Linked DNA regions of Homo sapiens: region 1 is linked to region 2. The links are contacts of gene promoters, found by promoter capture Hi-C in human tissues and cell types (Jung and others, 2019). All regions are on one chromosome and are shown on one strand. The core of a region is centred on a gene start or on the middle of the fragment in contact, and the rest is flanking DNA. Distances in the headings are between cores, read along the strand shown. Region 1 overlaps RAD54L2 (RAD54 like 2). Region 2 holds the start of RPL29 (ribosomal protein L29).

The links. Contacts are between HindIII fragments. The study calls those that stand out against the background at their distance.
Region 1: a contact is called between a fragment that was not itself captured here and the fragment with the promoter of RPL29 in region 2, in 1 of the 25 tissues and cell types used here (thymus).

Annotation. Positions count from the first base shown.
Region 1 is chr3:51,591,564-51,596,596 of GRCh38, forward strand. All of the region lies in intron 3 of RAD54L2 (RAD54 like 2), which reads left to right. Among named protein-coding and RNA genes, the nearest start is that of RAD54L2, 55 kb to the left of the region's middle. RefSeq lists a silencer at 1,908-2,111. The HindIII fragment of the contact is 4,263 bases long and covers 389-4,651 here.
Region 2 is chr3:51,994,568-51,999,658 of GRCh38, forward strand. It overlaps RPL29 (ribosomal protein L29), which reads right to left and starts at 1,328. Exons shown (of 4, transcript NM_000992.3): 1 at 1,290-1,328; 2 at 858-902; 3 at 475-539. The coding sequence starts at 894. RefSeq lists an enhancer at 1,273-1,432. The HindIII fragment of the contact is 10,138 bases long and covers 1-5,091 here.

The DNA.
Region 1 (5,033 bases), core at 1,270-3,769, 400 kb before region 2:
CAGAAGCCTCTCTCCATTTCTGCGGGGAAATGACCATTCACTTTTATCCCTCCAGTAGCATTTGCTGTCTGTTGCTAGCTTATTCAGTTGGAGTCTCATTTCTAGAAAGTAGAATGAATAGAAATAATGGAAGACAGTAATGTTTGCTTGGCTCTCATTGTTCCTGAGATGCTGTTAGAGTCCCTAGGTGTCAGCATCACTTTTTGCTTTTCATCATTGGGTTCTCATAATTGTATTTACAGACACCCTTAGAACTCCCATCAGGTTTAGATTGGATTTTAGATGCTTCTGGTGAGTGTAATGGATATATACACACTATCTTCCCTGTTGGCTTCTTGGAATTCTCTTTTCCCTTTTCCTTGTAAAATTGTTAATTATTCAAAAATTATATGATATGCTTCTGCGGACTTTACTATTATTTATTTAGAAATGACAAGAATTTAATTGTGATTTGTCTCAGAATAATGTAGCTGTGCAATTTGGTTTTGGTGTTTTTTTTTTTTTTTTTTTTTTTTTTTTTGAGATGGAGTTTTGCTCGTTGCCCAGGCTGGAGTGGAATGGCGCCATCTTGGCTCACTGCAACCTTCACCTCCTGGTTCAAGCGATTCTCCTGCCTCAGCCTCCTGAGTAGCTGGGATTACATGTGCCTGCCACCATGCCTGGCTAATTTTGTATTTTTAGTAGAGACGGGATTTCTCTATGTTGGTTAGGCTGTTCTCGAACTCCTAACCTCAGGTGATCTGCCCGCCTTGGCCTCCCAAAGTGCTGGGGATTACAGGGGTGAGCCACCATGCCCGGCCTTAAATACTTTTTTAAAATTTTAAAATGACTCATTTTTATTGAAGTTCAGAGTGATAAACAAACGTTCCATTAGGCCCTATGTCCTGCTGTGCTCTGCTAGGTTAACTGACTTCTTGGAATTTGACTCAAGGACCATTTTTATATTTCACTACAGTGTTAGAGCCACAAAAATAAAAGTAATACTTCTGTTACTTCTGGTGTTTTTGACCCTATTTTACCTCTTAAAGCTTTTTTTTTTTTCTTTTGTTGGCCCTGGCTGGAGTGCAATGGCGCGATCTCGGCTCACTGCAACCTCCGCCTCCCAGGTTCTAGCAATTCTCCTGCCTCAGCCTCCTGAGTAGCTGAGATTACAGGTGCCTGCCACCATGCCCAGCTAATTTTTGTATTTTTAGTAGAGACAGGGTTTCACCATTTTGGCCAGGCTGGTCTTGAACTCCTGACCTCAGGTGATTCACCTGCCTCGGCTTCCCAAAGTGCTGGGATTACAGGCGTGATCCACACCCGGCCTAAAGCTTTTCTTTTCCTCTCATGTTGAGCACTCTATGCAGTTTTCCTGAAAAATCCAAAACCTGCCTATTTCTTTAGTCTTGTCCTTGCTGCCATCCCGTAGTCATGGGCAGAGCAGCTAGCTATTCTACTAGTAAGAATAGCTATGAATAATCTAGTTTTAGTTGGTGTAGTGTGATGTGGCCCTTTTGTTTTCTTAGAGCAGTGGTTCTCAACCTGGTATGATTTTGCTTCTTAGGGAACAGTTTACAATGTGTGAAGACACTGGTTGTCAGGATTGTTGGGGGTGGGGTGGGGATGCTACTGTCATCTTGTGGATAGAGGCTGAGGATGCTATTAAACATCCTACAATGCATAGGAGAGCCCCTAGCTCACCCCAACAATTATCTGTCCCAAATGTCAATAGTACTGAGATCTGAGAAACCATTTCACAAAAGAAACTTACTTCAGCCCCTTTTTTTTTTTTTTTATGTTTTTTTGAGATGGAGTCTTGCTCTGTCGCCCAGGCTGGAGTGCAGTGGCGCGATCTCGGCTCACTGCAACCTCTTCCTCCCAGGTTTACGCCATTCTCCTGCCTCAGCCTCCTGAGTAGCTGGGACTACAGGCGCCCACCACCATGCGTGGCTAATTTTTTGTATTATTAGTAGAGACGGGGTCTCACCGTGTTAGCCAGAATGGTCTTGATCTCCTGACGTCGTGATCCGTCCGTCTCGGCCTCCCAAAGTGCTGGCATTACAGGCGTGAGCCACTGTGCCCGGCCACTTCAGCCCTTTTTATTTGAAGTTTCATCTCTACTGGATAACCACAGCTTACTTTTATATTGTTTGTCATAGTTTACACAAGCATGTGAACAATCTTATTCTTTTCAAAAAACTGTCTTTTGGGTTTGGTGTATTGTGTTTGTTTTCTTTGTAATTTCTACTTTCTAATTTTCTGTTTCTTTTGGGTTTATTTTGCCTTTCTTTTAGACTTCTTAGGAATGCGCGTAGCTTATTAATTTTCAGATGTTTTTCTACGTAAATATTTAAAGCTTTCTTTCAAACTTCTTAAGAATGTGCGTAGCTCATTAATTTTTAGATTTTTTTTCTATATAAGCATTTAAAGGTATAATTTTCCCTGTAAGCTTTAGCTCCATCCCCCCATAAGCATTTTGACACACTTTATCATACTTAATTGTCTTTCTTTTTTCTTTTTCTTTTTTTTTTTTTTTTTTTTTTGAGATGGAGTCTTGCTCTTTTGCCCAGGCTGGAGTGCAGTGGCATGATCTCAGCTCACTGCAACCTCCACCTCCTGAGTTCAAGCAGTTCTCCCACCTCAGCCTCCCGAGTAGTAGCTGGAATTACAGGCATGCACCACTATGCCTGGCTAAGTTTTTGTATTTAGTAGAGACAGAGTTTCACCATGTTGGCCAGGCTGGTCTCAAACTCCTGACTTCAGGTGATCCTCCTGCCTTGGCCTCCCAAAGTGCTGGGATTACAGGCATGAACCACTGTGCCCGGCCCATACTTAATTGTCTGGATAATCTTGTATGTTAGGTAGGGTAGATACATTTTACAGATGGGGAAACTGGGGCTCAGAAAGGTGAGTGGCTTACTCAGTATAACTTAGCAAGAAATTGGCAAAGCTGGACTTTTGGTCTTCAAGGCATTGCTCCTTTTTCAAACCAATGCTGCTTCTGAGACCATAGATTCTTATAATCGCCTTTCCTGTGATGTGTTTGCTTTCTTTCCTAGTTTCTGCTTTGAGGGAAGAAGGTGATTGTTAATTATTGTTGAGCAGAGGTGGAAGGACAGTTAGAAGTAACAGGAGGTATAAGGCAAAGTAGAAGGGAAAGTATGGCAAATGCTAAGGAATGATGAGCCGTCTTATTTGTTAATGCACTGGACACAAGAGGGGTAATCACCAGAGTGAGACTGGAGAGATGACCTATGGTTAGATCATGGAGTAGTTTAGAATTTGTTTTATAGGCAACATGGAATTGATGGGCGCTTTTTTTTTTTTTTTTTTTTTTTTTTTTTTTGACGGAGTCTCGCTCTGTCATCCAGGCTGGTGGCACAATCTTGGCTCACTGCAACCTTCACCTCCCAGGTTCAAGCGATTCTCCTGCCTCAGCCTCCTGAGTAGCTGGGACTACAGGCACGCGCCACCACATCCTGCTGATTTTTTGTATTTTCAGTAGAGACAGAGTTTTACCATGTTGGCCAGGCTGGTCTCAAACACATGAACTCAATTAATCCACACGCCTCAGCCTCCCAAAGTGCTGGGCTTACAGACATGAGCCACCGTGCCTGGCCGATGGGCCCTTTTACTGAGGAGCATCCATCAGACCTTTGACTTCAGGAATGGTACTCTAGCACTGTATCAAAGACATGGCCTGTAGACAGGGAGGATCAGTTAGGTCTGTAGTAGAACTCTATGGGAAAGGGTAATGAGGATTAGAACTGTTTGTGTCAGTCGATCACACAAGAGGAGTAAATGGTCAGACTTGTTGCACTGGATTTTATAGGACTTGGTGACTTACTGGATTTGTAGGGCAGATTGAAGAGGGATGGGTAAAAGCCCAGGAAGATCATGAGATCTTTTACAAAGGTGGGATGAACAGGATAGGGAGTGGATGGGGGAGTGAAAGATATTTTTGGCTTTGGTACAATAAGTCAGGCCATTGTTTCCTCCTTGATACTGACCTTTGTATGTTGAGTAGTGGGATAGTAGTGCAAGAACTGGTTATTATAGAACACGGAGGTTTGGCTGTTGGAGAACAGCACCATGACTTTGTCTTCAAACCAACCTTCAAGTGAGGAGAAGGTAGTGTTTTTTGTTTATAACATGTTAAAGGACCCATGACATGTTGTGAGACATTTTGGATTTGGTTTTTCATCCCCCTCTTTTTCTTTTCTCCTGATATCTGTCCTTAGCTTTCTCTGTTCTTTCAGAATGGTAGGGAAAGTTGGGTGTTAACACGTTTAGGGTCTGTTGTTATTAAAGGTAGGGGTTCAAAATGTGATACCTCTGGGATTGGCTTTCCTTATATAATAGTTTTTCTTTCTTTCATTCATTCAGTCTTCTTTTTTTTTTTTTTGAGACAGGGTCTCACCCAGGATCACCCAGGCTGGAGTGCAGTGGCGTGATCACGACTCACTGCAGCACCCCAGGGTCAGGTGGTCCTCCCACCTTAGCCTCCCAGGTAGCTGAGACTACAGGTGTGCGTCACCATGCCCAGCTAATTTTTGTATTTTTAGTAGAGACGGGTTTCACCATGTTGGCTGGGCTGGTCTCAAACTCCTGACCTCAAGTGATCCACCCACCTCGGCCTCCCAAAGTGCTGGAATTACAGGCGTGAGCCACCGCTCCCGGCCTTACTTCACTCTTTAAGCCTGCAGTAGACTCTTACTTAATGGTTGATGGCTCTGTCAACTGTCCGTGATAGGGAGCCCAGACCAAGAGAGATGTCCAAGGGTCTTTCAGTCTGTACAAATGGCAAAAATCCTAATATTATTTCTCCAAAGTAGTTTCTTGTCCTCCTGCAGCAGAGAAACATGGGAGAAAAATAACAAGAAGAAACCTGGGCTTGAATATGCACTAAAGATTGGAGGGTAAAGGAGACTCTTAGAATTTAATATGTTTTCTTTGTTTAACAAGAGCTTCATGTTTCTTATTCATTCAGATTTATGGATCCAGTTCCTAGTTTCACTCCAAAATTTCAGCTATTTTCTAGATATATGTAA
Region 2 (5,091 bases), core at 78-2,577:
CAGAGAGCAAAAGTAAAGGGAAGGAACAGACTGGGGACATGCTCAGCTCTCCCCTAGACCCTCCAGCCTTCTCAGCTAATCCTTAGAACCCCCTGACACAGGAAGAGAAGCTGACCCCAACTCCAGCACTGGGTCAGATGGAGGTCATAAGGCTGGTCAGTGTGGGAATGTGCCCTGCACGCACTCAGACAAGGCCACTCCTTACCCTAAGTGCCACTGCCAAGCAAGGGAGATAGCCAAACTGCCCTCAGGAGGCAGGTTACACCCTGACCAGAGGGTTACACTTCAGGCTGTGGAGACCAAGGAAAGCTTTATTATGGGTCTGGTAGGGTAGAAAAAGGAATTGCAGGCTTTGGGTGGGCCAGTTAGGCTGTGCTCAGGCAGAAGCCAAAGCTAGAGAAAAACTACATGAGAGGCCTTGACTGTGCACCTGGAACCAAGAAAAGACACTTCCATGTGATTCAGTGCACTCACCCCCTTAAGAGATTCGTATCTTTGTGATCGGGGTTTCTTGATACCATTTCTGTGCCATTTTCGGGCTGTGGGAGAAAAAAAGGGAATTAAGCCAACAAAGAACTTTCCTCTAATAAGACCACCCAACATCACAGCTGGCAAGTCTGGGAGAACCAACACTTCCTACAGCAGCTACACTTGAGATATGGGAAACCCTTACTACTAAATGCAAAACACTCTGTATCTCAAGTAGATCTCTAAACCTATAAACCCTAAAGTTATTACTGGGTGAAATCAATCAGCCTCAGGCCCACAATGGAAACGTGCCCCTTCATCTCTGTCCCAGTTTGCCTGAACCAGTCCTTGCCAGGGTCTGGGATGTAGGCAGGGCCCAAAAAACTTACACTGGTTGTGTGTGGTGTGGTTCTTGGACTTGGCCATGTCTGCACCTGGAAGACAAAAGTGGAGATCAGGGTTAAGGGCTCGCCAGGCTGGGCCACCTCTGCCCCCCCCATTCTGGTCAGAATGAGCCTGCAGGCAGAGAATGTGCAGCCTCCACGAGTCTCGGCTTACTCTGCACGACCAAACGCCAGTCCTGGCCTCCCAAACCCAGGTAATGATGCCCTGAAATCAACTCCTTACCCCCGGAAAGCTGCATTCCCCAATAAAGTGGCTTTCCCTGCCATCCCCCTCCTAGGACCTAGAAGCACCATTCCCACCCCGCAGCTTTTGCTCCCGACAGACACACGGTCGGTCACCAGTCCTCTCCGCAGCCCGCGCCCCGCCGCCACCCGTAAGTCGCGGATGGCATCGGATGCCGCGCGGCCAACACTCACCATAAGCCGCGGCTCCCGAAGCGCCTAGAACCGGAAGAGAAAGGGGCTGCGGTGCAGCACGGGAAATAGGGTCAACAACGCCGGAAAGTACTACTGGAAAAGCTTCCCCAGGCTCCGCGAAGAAAAGTTCCGAAGCCCGGAAGAACGCAAGCCAGACGTGGAGGCGGTGCTACGAGCTTGCCTCCGCCCCCTTCAGGCTGCCTCCTCCCTTCTCTGTTTCTCCAGGACCTGTCTCTTAAGTCTTATTCAAGATACTGAAAAAGAAAGGAGTCCTTGAGGGATGTTGTTGGGCAAGAAGATCTGTGTTCTTTTTCTTTTTTTTTTTTTTTGAGACGGAGTTTCGCTCTTCCACCGAGGCTGGAGGGCAGTGGCACAATCTCGGCCCACTGCAACCTCCGCCTTCCGGTTTCAAGCGATTCTCTTGCCTCAGCCTCCCGAGTAGCTGGGATTACAGGCGCCCACCACCACGCCCGGCTAATTTTTACATTTTTAGTAGAGACGGGGTTTCACCATGTTGGCCAGGCTGGTCTCGAACTCCTGACCTCGCGATCCGCTCGCCTCTGTCCCCCAAAGTGCTGGGATTACAGGCGTGAGCCACCGCACCTGGCCGATCTGTGTTCTTAAAAGCACCCCTGTAATCCCAGCACTTTGGGAGGCTGAGGTGGGCGGATCACGAGGTCAGGAGTTCCAGACCAGCCTGGACAACATGGTGAAACCCCATCTCTACTAAAAATCCAAAAAAAAAAAAAAAAAAAAAAAAAAAATTCACGGGGCGTGGTGGCACGTGCCTGTAATCCCAGCTACTCTGGAGGCTGAGGCAGGAGAATTGCTTGAATCTGGGAGGTGGAGGTTGCAGTGAGCCAAGATCGCACCATTGCACTCCAGCCTGGGCTACAGGGCGAGACTCTGTCTCAAAAAAAAAAAAGAAAAGCACGCCTGACTCTTTCGTGGAGAAGGAGCAGAGGGGAGGAAGGAGAGAGGGCTGCCTGGACCTGAGGGAGGACAGTGGGAATGCAGAGGAGTGGACAAAGAAAGAGTACTGGACTTGGGACACAGAAGATGAGGGAGAAAAAGGAGGCAAGGATAGCCCCTATGTCTTTGGCTTGACAACTGGGTGAATGGTGGGCTGTTTACAGAGATGGAAGATTGAGTGGGGAGCAGGGGCTTTGTTTGTTTTGTTTTGAGGGGGAATGATGAGCCAGATATTTTTGTTGGATGCATTAAATGTGAGATGCCTGTTGGACATCAGAATTGAGAAATTGTTGCCTCTAACAACTCTGTTGCCTTCTCCACCTCTTCCCCCTATAGTTCATTTTCCACACGGCAGTGGGGCTTGGGGACTTGTTTTAAGATACAAATCAGATCCTGTCCCTTAAATCTGCAAGGACATCCCCTTGCATTGAAGATCAATTCTTTACCCACTTGACCCTGACAACCTCTGTCATTTACTTCTCTCCAAACGCATTGCCTTTCTTTCCTGCCAACCACAAATGTGTGTTCTGCCTCAGGACCTTTGCACTTGCTATCCCAGCCACCTGGACTGCCCTTCTCCCTGCTTTTTGGATGGTGTGCTCTTTCCTATAGAGGCCTCCCTGGACTCCATTATCTAAAATAGAGAACCACTGCCTCATCTCACCAGTGATTCTGTGTCCTCTCATGGTTTCCTTTCTTTTCTATTCTTTTTTTTTTTTTCTTTTTTTTAGACAGTCTCACTCTGTCTCCCAGGCTGGAGTGCAGTGGTGCGATCTCAGCTCACTGCAACCTCTGCCTCCCGGGTTCAAGCGATTCTCCTGCCTCAGCCTCCTGAGTAGCTGGGATTACGGGCGCACACCACCACTCCCAGCTAATTTTTAAAGAATTATTTTTAGTAGAGACGGGTTTTCACCATGTTGGCCAGGCTGGTGTTGAACTCCTGACCTCAGGTGGTCTGCCCGCCTCGGCCTCCCAAAGTGCTGGGATTACAGGCGTAAGCCACCGTGCCCGGCCATGGTTTGCTTTCTTTATAGAACTTTCCCAGACTCTAATTGCATTGTTTACTTAGTTGTGTATGTGTCCATTATCATAGGAGCCCAGAGTTTGGGACTGGTTTGATCACCTTCATTTTCCCACTGCCTAACTCAGCATAATGTAGATAGAGCAAGAGCTTAATAAACACATGCCCAGTGAACGTTCCTTGACAAGCCAGGTTCGTGGAGTGACAGACGCATACTGCAGAGGTTTAGGGAGTGAAGCGGAAAGGAGGTTGTGGAGGCAGGACATGTGGATGACTCATTACCAAAGCATTCCTGAGAAAGGGGAGAGAATTCTGACAGGTGTGAGTTGGGAGAATGAAAAGCAGGCTTATATACTGATGGATGATCTGGTGCCAAGAAAGAAACAGCTGAGCCCAGAGGAGAGTGTCTCTGCAGGAATAAAGTCCCTGTGGGGTGCTGAGCACAGGTAGAGAACCTGGTGGGCAAAGACAGGGGCTACAGGAGGTGGGGGTGGTGTGATGCCTGACAGCAAGTCAGGACTTCAGCTCAGGAAGTTGAAGAGGTGGCTGTGGAGACTGGGACAGGGAGGAGGAGGTCTGACTGCCACATCCTTGAGAAAGAGAAGCCAGCAGGGTAGAGGCTGACAGCGGGGGCAGTGATGACTTTATTTATTTACTTTTATTTATTTTATTTATTTATTTATTTATTTTGAGACAGAGTTTTGCTCTCATTGCCCAGGCTGGAGTGCAATGGCGCGATGTTGGCTCACTGCAACCTCCACCTCCTGGGTTCAAACGATTCTATTGCCTCAGCCTCCCGAGTAGCTGGGATTACAGGCACCTGCCACCATGCCCAGCTAATTTTTGTGTTTTTAGTAGAGACGGGGTTCTACCATGTTGGCAATGCTGGTCTCGAACTCCTGACCTCAGGTGATCCACACTCCTTGGCCTCCCAAAGTGCTGGGATTACAGGCGTGAGCCTGTAATCCATGTCCAGCCTGTGATGACTTTAAAAGAACCAGGCTGCCCTGCTATGTGGCCTTCCAGCTGGGTAGCGACTCCCGCAGCTCCTAAAAAGTGAGTAGTGACTTGGTTTAGCTAGACTGTTACGACAGAGGCAGAAAAAGCAGTGAGCAGAAAGCCACGGTCTGACGGGGGAGGCAGATTCAGAGATGGACGATGGTCATGCAGTACCACTGGGGCTGTGTTAGGGATTGGCCCAGAGTTAAATCCCAGCTGTTAGGCAAGGGGGAGTCAGTGACAAGAATGAGGAACTTTGGCTGTGACCTGAGGGGACCTGTCCAGGAGCCAAAGGGGACCATGACCTGGAGCCACTGACCTGTCATGCTTTTCTTTTCTTTTTCTTTTTTTTTGAGACAGAGTTTTGCTGTTGTTGCCCAGGCTGGAGTGCAATGACACGATCTCAGTTCACTGCAACCTCCGCCTCCCCAGTTCAAGCGATTCTCCTGGCTCAGCCTCCTGAGTAGCTGGGATTACAGGCGCCTGCCATCACACCCAGCTAATTTTTGTATTTTTAGTAGAGATGAGTTTTCACCATGTTGGTCAGGCTGGTCTTGAACTCCTAACCTCAAGTGATCCACCCACCTTGGCCTCCCAAAATGCTGGGATTACAGGCGTGACCAACCACGCCTAGTCCCTGTCATGCTTTTCAAAGTGGGATGGATGGTAGGGTCATCCATGTCTATAAAGATAGTATTCTTTCTAGGGATAGTTTTCTTTATTTCTCCCTTCCTTCCTTTCTTCCTCCCTCCCTCCCTCCCTCCTTTCTTTCTTTTCTTCCTCCCTCCCTTTTTCACTCCTCTCTTTCAT